Regions from separate parts of the Homo sapiens genome. Here region 2 is linked to region 1. The links are contacts of gene promoters, found by promoter capture Hi-C in blood cells and fetal thymus (Javierre and others, 2016). All regions are on one chromosome and are shown on one strand. The core of a region is centred on a gene start or on the middle of the fragment in contact, and the rest is flanking DNA. Distances in the headings are between cores, read along the strand shown. Region 1 holds the start of BRAF (B-Raf proto-oncogene, serine/threonine kinase). Region 2 overlaps FMC1-LUC7L2 (FMC1-LUC7L2 readthrough).

Region 1 (5,899 bases), core at 2,166-4,665:
CACCCCAAAAAAATGATTAGTTAAATAAATCACAGTATGTCTAATAATACGTAGAAATTTTTGCTTTAAGTTTTTTAAAATACAAAACTACATAGTGTTATAAAAGCATTAAAAAAGAACAGATGGAATACACCAAAATGTCTATAGTAATAATATCTTAGTGGCAAAATTACTGATGATTTTTTACTTTTTGTACTTATAGTTTTCTAATTTTTGATAATGACTTGCTTTCCCTTTGAAATCAGACTTTTTTTTTAGATGAAATTTCCCTCTGGGAAACTTTTATTTAAAAAAAAAAAACCTACATTTTACTGTTAGGTAAAATAAATCTTCAGAATAAAATGTGTCATTACACACAAGCAAACCTTTTCATTCTTTCCATGTAATTTGCAGTAAAAGATCCCTTTAAGTGAATGTAAGGAAGACTTCAAATAAAAGACCACAGCACATTTCAGTTTCCACTGAATATCAACTTCAAATTTAAAATTATTTCTTGGAGGAATTTATTTTATCATCTGTAATACTGATATTTACATTCAAGAGATACATTTTTTAATCAATGTCACCCTCCCAGCCAAATACATTTATTATCAGTTCAGAAAAAAATGTAGAGGGAAAACTACTGTTCACCACTAAACATTAAAACCTGGGTAAAGAGGACAGTAGGAAACACTTGTTTTTTAACCAAGTAAAATGAGAGTATCCTTATAGTTTCAGAAGATATGAATATGCTTTCCAATTACTGGCAATTTATACTTAAATTCAGCTAGCCTAGAGGTTCTCAAGGATTGGTACATGGGAACTGCTCAAGACATGTGCCAAATACAGAAATCCATGGCCCTCGCTCTCACTTACTAAATCAGACTCTTCAGGGGGTACAGTTCCAAACAATCTGGCCCTTTCAAATAAAATAGAAGGGTAGAGATTTTACTTCACAAAAGCCTTCTTTACAGAATTGCAAACGGTTCTAATAACTCTGCAGCAAAGTTCCCAAGATAAACAATTTTATAATCAGAGAATTACAATTTCATAACCCCTACTTATTACTTCACTCATTGTTCCACTCTGTAGTAGTCTTCAAACAAGATACAATTCAACAAAACTACACATCTATTACAGAGTAAAATAAAATCCAGAGGCACCTGTGCCTGGTTAAGACAAAGGCATATCCGATTCCTGGAGAAAACAGACAGCAGATGTGACCCCTAGTATTTATCCATTAAAAACAATGTATCCTAAAAATAAATTTCCATGTCAAAGGAAACAAAGATGTTTATAAATAAGAAGGAACGTGGAGGTGTGGAGAAGAAAAGAGGAAGCTTCAGAAAGTTAAGTACCAAAAGCCAGGAAACAAGGCAAAATGAATGGTAACTGGAAACAAGGGAAACAGAATAAACTAGGAAATTGAAGTAGAGAAGAGCTTTCTCCTTAGAAATCAAGAAGCTGGGGGAAAGGAACAGATATGAGAGGAAACTGATCTAAGCAAAAATGCATACTGAAAAGTGGAATGATTTTAAGAAACTTAAAAATGAGAAATTTTAGAACAGATCAAATGATGGTACAGAACACATTTTGGGCATGTAACAAAGATGATATAAAGAGTAGAAAACAAACATTATCATAAACAAGCTGATGCTGAATAAAGCAAGCATATTGGATGAATTTCCAAAGATGATGATGCAAAAAAAAAATTGCAGAGAGAATGAGATGTTATGAGAATTGAGAAATTAGATGTTAATAGTAAGTAGCAAAGAGAACTTCGAGCAAAGTCAACAGAGTAAGTCACATTACCTAATCAATAACTGTAAACCACAATTATTATACCATATCTTATTTGTAAAGCATAATAAAGTATTATTTTCTGTAATAAAATACCAAATATTTGTAATAAATTTTATGTAATAAAAAAACGTAAATAATTTGACACAGTGCTAAGAGGCTGACTAATGCAAAAACAGGCTGAGAGAAGCAAGGACTGGAGAGGAAAAAGGAAAAGGAAAAAAATAGGACAAAAAGGAGGACAACACTAAGAAATCAATCAGACCTATAAAAATGGGTAGGAATAAAGAGGTGTGAATGCACAATGGACGACTAGCCAAAAAGTGCCAGTAGTGCAAGCGCGAAAAGAGCCAAGTGAAACCTGATGGAATCTTGACAGCTTCTGGGCTCAGAAAACAAGTAGCTCCAAAGTGTCCAGGAGGATTTGTGAAGATAACAACAGACAACAATGTTAGGGAGTGGTGAGATCAAGTACAGAGCCTCAAGAGGACCAGGGTAAGAGAAGTGCAAAAATGCTCTTAAGTGGGAGCTGGGGTTAGAAGGCAGGCAGGTCCGACAACTGGAAAATGAGCGGGCGGTAGATGGGAATAGAATGGGGGTTACCAATCAGCGACAGAGCGCTGACAAACATTAGGAACAGAGGACCAGAGACCAGAAAAGGCATCGGAAACTGCGATTTAGGATTGAAAAAGTAAAGACTAAATCAAAATAATTTGCTGGGTAAAACAGGTGAAGAGAAATCCCCAAATAGAAAAGTGAAAAAGGGCAGCGGACTGAGAAGGGGGGCAGTCCGGGAGAGGAGAGAGGAAATGATGAGCCCCATCATCCCCACGACCATGTAAGAATTACACGCGACAGTAACTCGGGCTGTTGTCTCAGCCCCAGCAACTAACCTATATCCTCCACGTCGAGGCCGCCGCCGCCCCCACCCCACAGAGATGCAGAGCTGGATACTTCAGCCAATCGTGACCTTCTCGGACCAACCCTGAGTTTCGCCCCCTATTGATAGCCTCCCGCTCAACCACCGCTGCCCCAATCCCCACATCTGGGGTGGGGGCCAGGGAAACCCCCCGGGCCATTGTGTGTGTTTACGTAGGAAGGCGCTGCATGACGGAGAGGGACACGGGGGCGATGCCCACCTCCCAGCCCGCGGAGCTGGCCCGAGAAGGTGGCTGAGGGCATCAAGCCCCCACCGCCGCCTCTTTCCAAAATAAACACCAGCCAGCCGCCGAGCCCGGAGTCGGGAGGGCGGCAGGGTGGCGCCAGCACTCACCTCCTCCGGAATGGCAGGGTCCGCAGCCGAAGAGGCCGCGGCGCCGGCGCCGGCGCCGGCCTCGGGCTCCATGTCCCCGTTGAACAGAGCCTGGCCCGGCTCCGCGCCGCCACCACCGCCACCGCTCAGCGCCGCCATCTTATAACCGAGAGCCGGGGCCCGAGCGGCCGCTGTCGGGCGGGGAGGGGGAAGGGAGGCGGAGAGCTGGGGGAGGCGGAGGCGGAGGCGGAGGCGGAGGAGCGGGGGGCGCGGGGGGCGCGGGGAGGAGCGGCCCGGGCGGCGCCGCGGGCGGAGGGCGCCTGGGCCACCTCAGGTACCGGCCCGCGGCCCCGGGCGCAGCCGAGCCTGAGGGGATTGGGGGAAGGACGCTAGGCGGGGGTGCGGGGGGGAGCGGGGGAAGGGGGCGGAGACGACGAGAAGTCGCCGCGGCAACGGCGTCACCCGCGTGTCACGGTCGTGACGTCACCCCGGTGCGTGACGTAATCTGAGGCGCGCCTTCGCGCCGTCGTCCGGGGAGGGTTTTTTCCCTTCTAACCACCCGCGCTCTCACACTTTGCCTCCGCTCCGCCGTTTCCATGGCTCCGGTTTCCTACTTTCCTCTTGTCTCCTCCGTCCTCAGCCTGTTCTGTAATGTGGGATTTACTAGAAGAGCAGGGCTGGTGTTCGAGGAGGAGAAGTTGAAATCCTAGAGGGAGGAAGGCGGGGAAGCCAATACTACTTGCTATTTCCACTGCAATGAACGTCTCTGTGTCATCAAAATAAGAACTTCAACCCCAAGGTTGAAACAGCCAAGCAGAATTTGATGGAAATATATTTAGGAACAGCTAAATTAGCAGTGCGACGCGTGTTTTCTTTTCATTGAAGAATTCAGCCAGTTAAAACGAGTCTAAATGGAAGTCTGAAAGCTTTTTCTTCATTGTTGAGGAATAAAATATTTCGTGTATTTTTCGTTTTCCAGATTCATTCATTTAACAAATATCAGTTGAGCACTTTCCATGCCGTAGGGCCTGTACAAGGCACATAGCATTCTAGACATCTGAAGCATCAAAACTAATCATTTTTATTTTGAAGAAAATCACTCAAAATATTTTATGTACTTTGTGCCTTTCATGAACAGAATATTCCAAGCATTCTCTGCAAAATACGCATGAAAACAATTGGGAGAGAAGAGGTCAATTATCTTTGAGAAGCCCAATTACAGAATGAAATTCAATTCATTATTAAAAATACATGGATCTAATAAAGAATAAATAATTGGAAAAGAAAAGTTTAAGGAAGAGAGAAACGGGAATGAGAAACAATTACTGTGGGCTCCCAATGGCCTGGAGTGAATCACCAAAGTAACCTAAACATGAAGTCATGAAAAACTAAGTGGATTCTGCCTTTTAGTACTTCCCATCATGGGGGAAGTCACCAGCGACCTCCTTACTGTATTTTGGATGATTCAAGAAATAGAAAGGTGTCCTACTGACTTCTGAAACAGGGTGTCTTCATATTGATTAGGGTCACCGTAAGCCTGGGAGCTGATGCTTACTCTCAGGTAAAGGATGCTGTGTGAGGCTGCTTGATGAATGAGAATACTAACATTCTTCTGCATTGAAAAAATATAACCTATAAGATGAACATTGTAGGCCGGGCGCAGTGGCTCACGCCTGTAATCCCAACACTTTGGGAGTCTGAGGCGGATGGATCACCTGAGGCCAGGAGTTTGAGACCAGCCTGGCCAACGTAGTGAAACCTCATCTCTATTAAAAGTACAAAAAATTAGCCTGGTGTGGTGGTGCACACTTGTAATCCCAGCTACTCAGGAGCCTGAGGCAGGAGAATCATTTGAACCTGGGAGGCAGAGGTTGCAGTGAGCCGAGATTGCACCACTGAACTCCAGCCTGGGCAACAGAGCCAGACTCTGTCTCCAAAAAAAAAAAAACATGAACATGGTATGCTTTGTTAACTTCATTGTACATTCTCCTCCAAGTAGGAAAGTTTCTATGAGGAAATAAATTTAAATCAAAAAGTGGCTTGGCAAATGTAGAGTAAATGATCACAAGGGATGATGTCATCAAGCTAAACTAATCTGAAGCACCCTTTACTATAAGGACATACTTAGAAGCAGACTGAAATAGCACCATTAGCCAGTCATGGCACCTTTTCCCCTTTCATCACCCTTTCATCACCCTTTCATCAGAAACACAACTGGCAAGATTTTTGTTAATTCTCTAACTGTCCTATTTCATTTTTAAAAAATTAGCTGCTAAAAATGTTATATCATTATAACACTTCCTTATAACATTAAAAGTTTTAAAGGCTTTTATCCTCACATTGGTTCCATTTTGAATTCTAGCCTTATTTGTCAGTATCAGTCTGTAGTTCAGATCTTCCATGATTATTTCTCCACAGGATGACTGGTCTCATCCATTTAATATTGATTCTTCTTAGCGTTCTACTCATTTGACATTTTCTGACCTTGCCTTAAAATTCTGGATATATCCTGTTTTACTTCCTTAGGCCATTCTAAAGTCCTACAGTATCCAGATGAGAAACGAGAGAAAGCATAAGCTTTGGAGTCCAAAGATCAGGATTTTAGCGTCAGCACTCCACACCTTAGCTATACAATCTCAAAGCAGGTAAGCTTAAATCCCTGTTTGTTGTTTTGTTTTTTAATCTATAAAATGAAGGTTATAATAATGCTAGCCCAACCTGCCAAACTATCATTGTGAGGATCAAACATTATACTTTCACCCTTTGAAAAATATAAAATTACCCTCTCAGTCAGAATTCAGACAAGGCATAGCAAAGATGGCTTATCTCTGCTCCATGATGTCTGGGGCTTCAGCTGGGAAGACTCAG
Region 2 (5,545 bases), core at 2,900-5,399, 1.6 Mb before region 1:
CCCCTCCTCTTCCTGGGTCAGGAGGAAACCTTTATTACTAACCCAGTCTCAGAGATGCACCCTCGAGCCCCACAGAAACAACCATTTTTATGGAAAATCTGACCCAAACCATGGTTTCTTAAGTGGGTGTGTTTGGCCCCATTTTGTGAGAAGGAACATGTTATGGCCTGTTTTTCCGAGAGACCTCCATTTTGTTAGACAATTTAATAGAGGCTTTGTTCAGTAAATATTGACAAATGTTGCATGTCCCTAACAGAACGATTTTGAAAATTTGGTACCCAGTGAAGTAGAATAGAGGAGAACAAAGATCCTTTCAGGCGTTTAGTTTAGAATCTGTATAGAGAGCCCTTAATTGCTGGATTATCCTTTGTCATAAAGAGAATTTCTAAATAAAATGATGAAATGCTGTTGCTTTTTTGGTGATGTTAATTAGTAATGTACTCTCAAATTCAACTTAAATACATTCAAATATGTAGGAAAGGTCTAGTTCATTACTTTCTTAACACAGCAAAATCCTTGGTAGTTTTTATGTGTTGCTTCTTTAGGCAGATAGTTTCTTAGCCACTAAGGAAATGCTTTTTTTCTTGAGAAGTTATTTAAGTGTATTGATTTAAGAGAAAAGGCACGTCTTAAATTTAGTTTTTAAGTTACTCTTTTAATTTACATGAGTGCTTTACAGCAAAATATGAGTAAATTTTAAAAATTTTATTGCATTCAAATCTTTCAGCAGTGCGTAGAGTGGCTTTTCAGTGTTCACATTTTCAGTTTTAATAAAAACCCATATTGGGAACTTTTATTTGTAGAATATATAGACAAATAGGTGTAGATGGCAAACCTACTTGTGGTTGTGTAGAGAGGAAAGATTGGGAAGGAAATGAGTTTTGTATGGAAAGTTAACATTAACTTAAAATGCCACTGGAGAAACTTTTAACTGTTATCATTTCTCACGTTTAGATAAGAATGGTTACTTTATCACTGCAGCATGTCTTAACATTCCTCCTTTTCCAACATGAGAGAGGGTATTGGGAACGGGTTTCATTGGATCCTAGCTAACAGAATAACTAATCTGTGTAATAAAATTAAGTTATTTAAGACGTGCTTTACATGATCCTTTTAATCCTTGATGGATACCATTTTTGGGATCTTCTTCATGGATTGGATTTCTTAGTTTTACTGGGAGGGTAGTTGGATCAAGGTAAACCATCTCCTGATAAGTTTCTGAATTAGGCAGCCCGTCTAGTATTGCAAAGCTAAATTTAAATATATATATTTCTGTGTGTGTAGTCAGCAGAAACATGGATTTCTTAAAATCCACTTTGTGTATTTTTTTATGTGTCTGTTACTGGATTTTTTTTTTTAACCTTCAGACTTAGAGGATTTATGATCGAACTCATATTTACGAGTCCACAGTATTGTTTAGCTGAAATGACTGGATTTTCACTGCTGTATTGGGTTAGAAGTAAAAAATATACTACTTTCAAGGAAAAATAATTGAGTGGAGTTTTTTTTAGATATCAAAATTAATTCTATATATGCAAAATAATCAGAACATTCTTTTTTTTCTTACCATTTAATGAGTTTATATATATCATTTTATGATTCAGGACTTTTAATAATTAGGATTGTTCTTTTTTAGCATACAGTCAACTTCAAGTTACCCAGGGATAGGGGAACATGGAAACGTCCCCTGAATAACACCATGTAATTTGAAACCATTTAATGGGAACCCTTGTATTGGACACACAAACAGCCTATGGGAACGCTGTTGGGTGTCTTTGGCACTAAGAGGTGGAAATGGGTATCCAGGAGGTGGGAGAGAGATGGAAAAGGTAGGTAGGAGGGTATTTAAGGCAACTCTGTCCTTTTTTTTTTTTTTTTTTAATTCCAGAGACTATAAAGCAGCGACTCTCTTTTTTGGAAGTGGGGTTCAAGGTGGCAGTGACCCCCTCCACTCTTAGTGTCCTGTCTGTGAAGGAATCTGAAGTGGCACAGAGTCCTGGGGCTTTGGGAAAACATTACCTCCTCACCCCCTCAAGGTTTCTTCCCCCTCCCCTTCCTGACAGTTTTTAATTAGTTCCTTTTAAAATTCATTGGAGATTTAAGTCTGTTAGTTAAATATACCTTAACTTGAATTACATAAAGTAGTTAATCATTTAGATTACCTAAACTTCACTGGAATCCTTAGGAGTAGGAATTTTGTTAGCAGGGAAATGGAGAGGTAATTTTGGATCACTGGGCACTTCAAGAAAGGACATTCCTGGGTGAGTGGTGGAAGTTGGGGGCTTTAGACAATCTGAGGGCAGCATGATGGTGCCGGGAGGCTGGGCAGGGGGACTGCCAGGAGGTGGGAGAGAAATGCATAAGGGAGGTGGGAGGGCCAAAGACAAACTCTGCCTTCTTTGCAATTTTGCCTAGGGCCCTGGTGGTGGCAACCGCCTGTGTGCCACTGAAAATCGTGCCGATGCCTGGCATACTGCATAAATGGAAGCAGGGTACCGCGTGAGTTGAAACATTGGTCACACTATATAAAGTTTGTATATGTGAATCAGTGTAACTCATACCCATATAACTGGGGGTCTGACTGTATTTGGATTTTTCTGATAAGGCATCATGGGCTAAGGAAAAGAGCACTGGGCTGAGACTCAGGAGACCTGGTTTCTAGCCCCAGCTGTACCTCTAATTGTAACCTTGGGTAAGTCACTTAACCTTTTTTGCCTCAAGTTAAATCTGTAATTTGTTATATGGGAAACCAAATAATTTCCTATGTTATACTCAGAAATGTTGAAAAATAAATATATTTTAAGTTTTTTTAGAAAGGAGCTATAAGTAGATAGTAATTACTAGTTTATTTTATCTTGTTTATGATTCATTACGTTTTATAAATATCTTTCTGTTTTAGTTGTTAGCAGAGGGGAGAGGGATAATTTGTTTTCCCTGAACATATTCATTCTATTTGAAAGCAGGGAGGAGTTGCACAGGAAAATCCAAGAAACAGTTTGAGAATTGTCTGTGTGACAGTTGGAAGAACCCAGTACCCTCACACAGACTGTGATTTTTGCTCAGTTGGATTAATTGCAAGGATGTTCCTTAGCTAAAGCCCCTTTGCCAACAAACACAGTTTGGTCATAAGTCTCTAGTCTTGATCCCAGGAAAGTCTGGGAAGATGCAAGCAATAAGAATTAAATAAAATTGAGGGTGTGGATTTAGATTACATCCTTTTTTTTTTTTTTTTTTTTTTTTTTTGAGACAGGGTCTCTGTTGCCCAGGCTGGAGTGCAGTGGCACGATCTCGGCTCACTGCTACAACCTCCACCTCCTGGGTTCGAGTGATTCTCCTGCCTCAGCCTCCCGAGTAGCTGGGATTACAGGTGGCTGCCACTACGTCTGGCTAATTTTTGTATTTTTAGTAGAGATGGGGTTTCTCCATGTTGGCCAGGATGGTCTCGAACTCCTGACCTCGGGTGATCCACCATGCCCAGCCTAGATTACATTTTAAGCTTAGAAATTAGGTAAGTTATAGAAGGTAGTTCTGAGGGTTCTGTATCTCTTAATTGCTTATACCTTTAAATGGGAGCAGAGACCACCTTCGAAAGATTAAAATAGGCAGGAATGGCAGCCTGCCCTCCAAAACAACAAGTAGACTAGGAATGTTAGATAGAATTTTATAGCATCATTAATTGTCCCTTATGGTTAGGGACTGTTTCGGGCAAGTTAAAACTTTCAATAATTTTAACTATTTTAAATGTTAATCTTTCTAAATTGTAGGATATACTTCCTCAGTTAACATATTAATCATAATATTTTTGCTGATCAGTTGTACAGTAGTTATAGTTTGTGGGATATAAAACTGAAAGGATACTCATCCTCATACCCAGGAAAATACTGTTAAGAAAGCCATTTACTTGTTGCTAATGTAAGGTTAGTAGTACATAACCGTGTAATCTGTAAGATAGTATGACATTTCTGCCTTTCTGCAAAATTACTGAATCAAAGTTTGAAGTAGTGCGTTCTTTAATGGATTTTATTTATAAAATCATCTTTACTGTAATCTGTGTTCCTTGACTTTTCATCAACATTGAAAACATTTTCTCTTAATTTTTTCTCATTAACATAATGAACCATATTCATTTCTTGGTCAGTTGTGAGCCATTCTTTTATTCCACTTGGATTGTTCATTTTAAGTGAAGGAGGCGGAGCCTTTAATGTATACGCAGACATTTTTTAAATAATAACAGGATATTTCTTAGTCTAGAGCTTGTAAATTCTTTAATATAAGGAGTTTTATAGGATTAAACAGTAGTTTCTCTGCGTTTCAGTTAACTATTTAACTTTATCAGAGTTTCAGGCATATCCAAAACACTGAAAGCACCTGCATAGTGAATCAATGAAAAAAGAAAAGTTTTCCTCATTTTGCATTTTGAACTCTGAATAATATTTCTATCTACACAGCAGCCCAGAAAACAATAAAAGTATCACTTCATATAACATTGCATCGTTCCTGGATTCTCTACAGTTGTTTAGTTCTCCTCAAGTAAGCATATGCTTCTGAGACATTCTTTTACTTCAGGTAAATATAAGCAAAACAAAGAAAAATCATTTTGTCTATTTCTGCATCAGTTCTATAAGGAGCAAGTAAATTCTTTTATTTTCGTTTAGGTTGGATGTTGTCATATAAGGATAGATGGTAGTGTTCAACGTGTTCAAGATGGGTAGTAGGAATTCAATGGCCATGAGGTGTCATGGATCAAGGTCAGGTTTAGTGAATCAGGTACTCTTCAGTAACAGGTGGTTCATACAAAGCATTGAAGCTTAAAGTTGCTGTGAGTTCAGCAAGCAGGAGGGTTGAGAAGACAGGCAGATGGTTTAAAACTAAAGGTCAATAAGTGGGCAAGACTAGTTAAATGAGGCAGATACTCCCCAAAGATGGAATTCCAGAAAGGTGCTTGAAAAGGACTGAATTCTTAAAGCCTACTGCTGTTAGTATGTAGAGTTCTTGAGGAAACAAGCAGTTTGGCATAACTTAATCTACTAAGAAACTATAAGAAGGTGAAGGAAGTTGGAACATCTTACTGGAAAAAGAATGAGGGAGTGAAGAGGGAATCTTGTGAATTCAAAACTTGCAGAAAAGCTATTCTGTTTCCTTTTTGTTTAGGTTCTCATGCACTAGCAGCTGCTAGAATAGATATTGGAAGGCAGGGCCAAAATAGGTCAGTTGTTCAGTTTTGCAAGATTATTGAGGATATAGAGAAATTAATTTGTGAAAACTCTGAAATCATCTGCAGCTCCATGTTTTTGTTTGAACTGAATAACTTAGGACTTTGAGAAGTCAAAGCCGTCAGAAAGTAACATGAAGTCCATTCAGCTGAATAAATGTCATATTTTGCTATTAGCATAGAAAAGAATCTTTAAAACTTCTTTCCAAAAAGCACTCAGTATTGACCCATATGTTCCAGTATAGTTGTGAACCATGTACAACTGATGTTTGACTTATTTGACTCAACATGAAAGGAATTTAACCAGCTGCCCTTGCTGAATCTTGTCTCCTG

Evidence for each region. The method cuts DNA at HindIII sites, captures the fragments that hold promoters and counts their contacts. A CHiCAGO score of 5 or more calls a contact.
Region 2: a contact is called between a fragment that was not itself captured here and the fragment with the promoter of BRAF in region 1, in 1 of 17 cell types (total B cells). The highest score is 5.3, in total B cells.

The regions. Positions count from the first base shown.
Region 1 is chr7:140,921,514-140,927,412 of GRCh38, forward strand. It overlaps BRAF (B-Raf proto-oncogene, serine/threonine kinase), which reads right to left and starts at 3,416. Exons shown (of 18, transcript NM_004333.6): 1 at 3,053-3,416. The coding sequence starts at 3,190. LOC105375536 (a long non-coding RNA gene) reads left to right here and starts at 3,579. Exons shown (of 5, transcript XR_002956518.2): 1 at 3,579-4,989; 2 at 5,558-5,676. RefSeq lists a silencer at 3,239-3,308. The HindIII fragment of the contact is 2,638 bases long and covers 1,318-3,955 here.
Region 2 is chr7:139,360,761-139,366,305 of GRCh38, forward strand. All of the region lies in intron 2 of FMC1-LUC7L2 (FMC1-LUC7L2 readthrough), which reads left to right. The region is part of intron 1 of LUC7L2 (LUC7 like 2, pre-mRNA splicing factor); the gene reads left to right. Among named protein-coding and RNA genes, the nearest start is that of LUC7L2, 3.6 kb to the left of the region's middle. The HindIII fragment of the contact is 1,311 bases long and covers 3,495-4,805 here.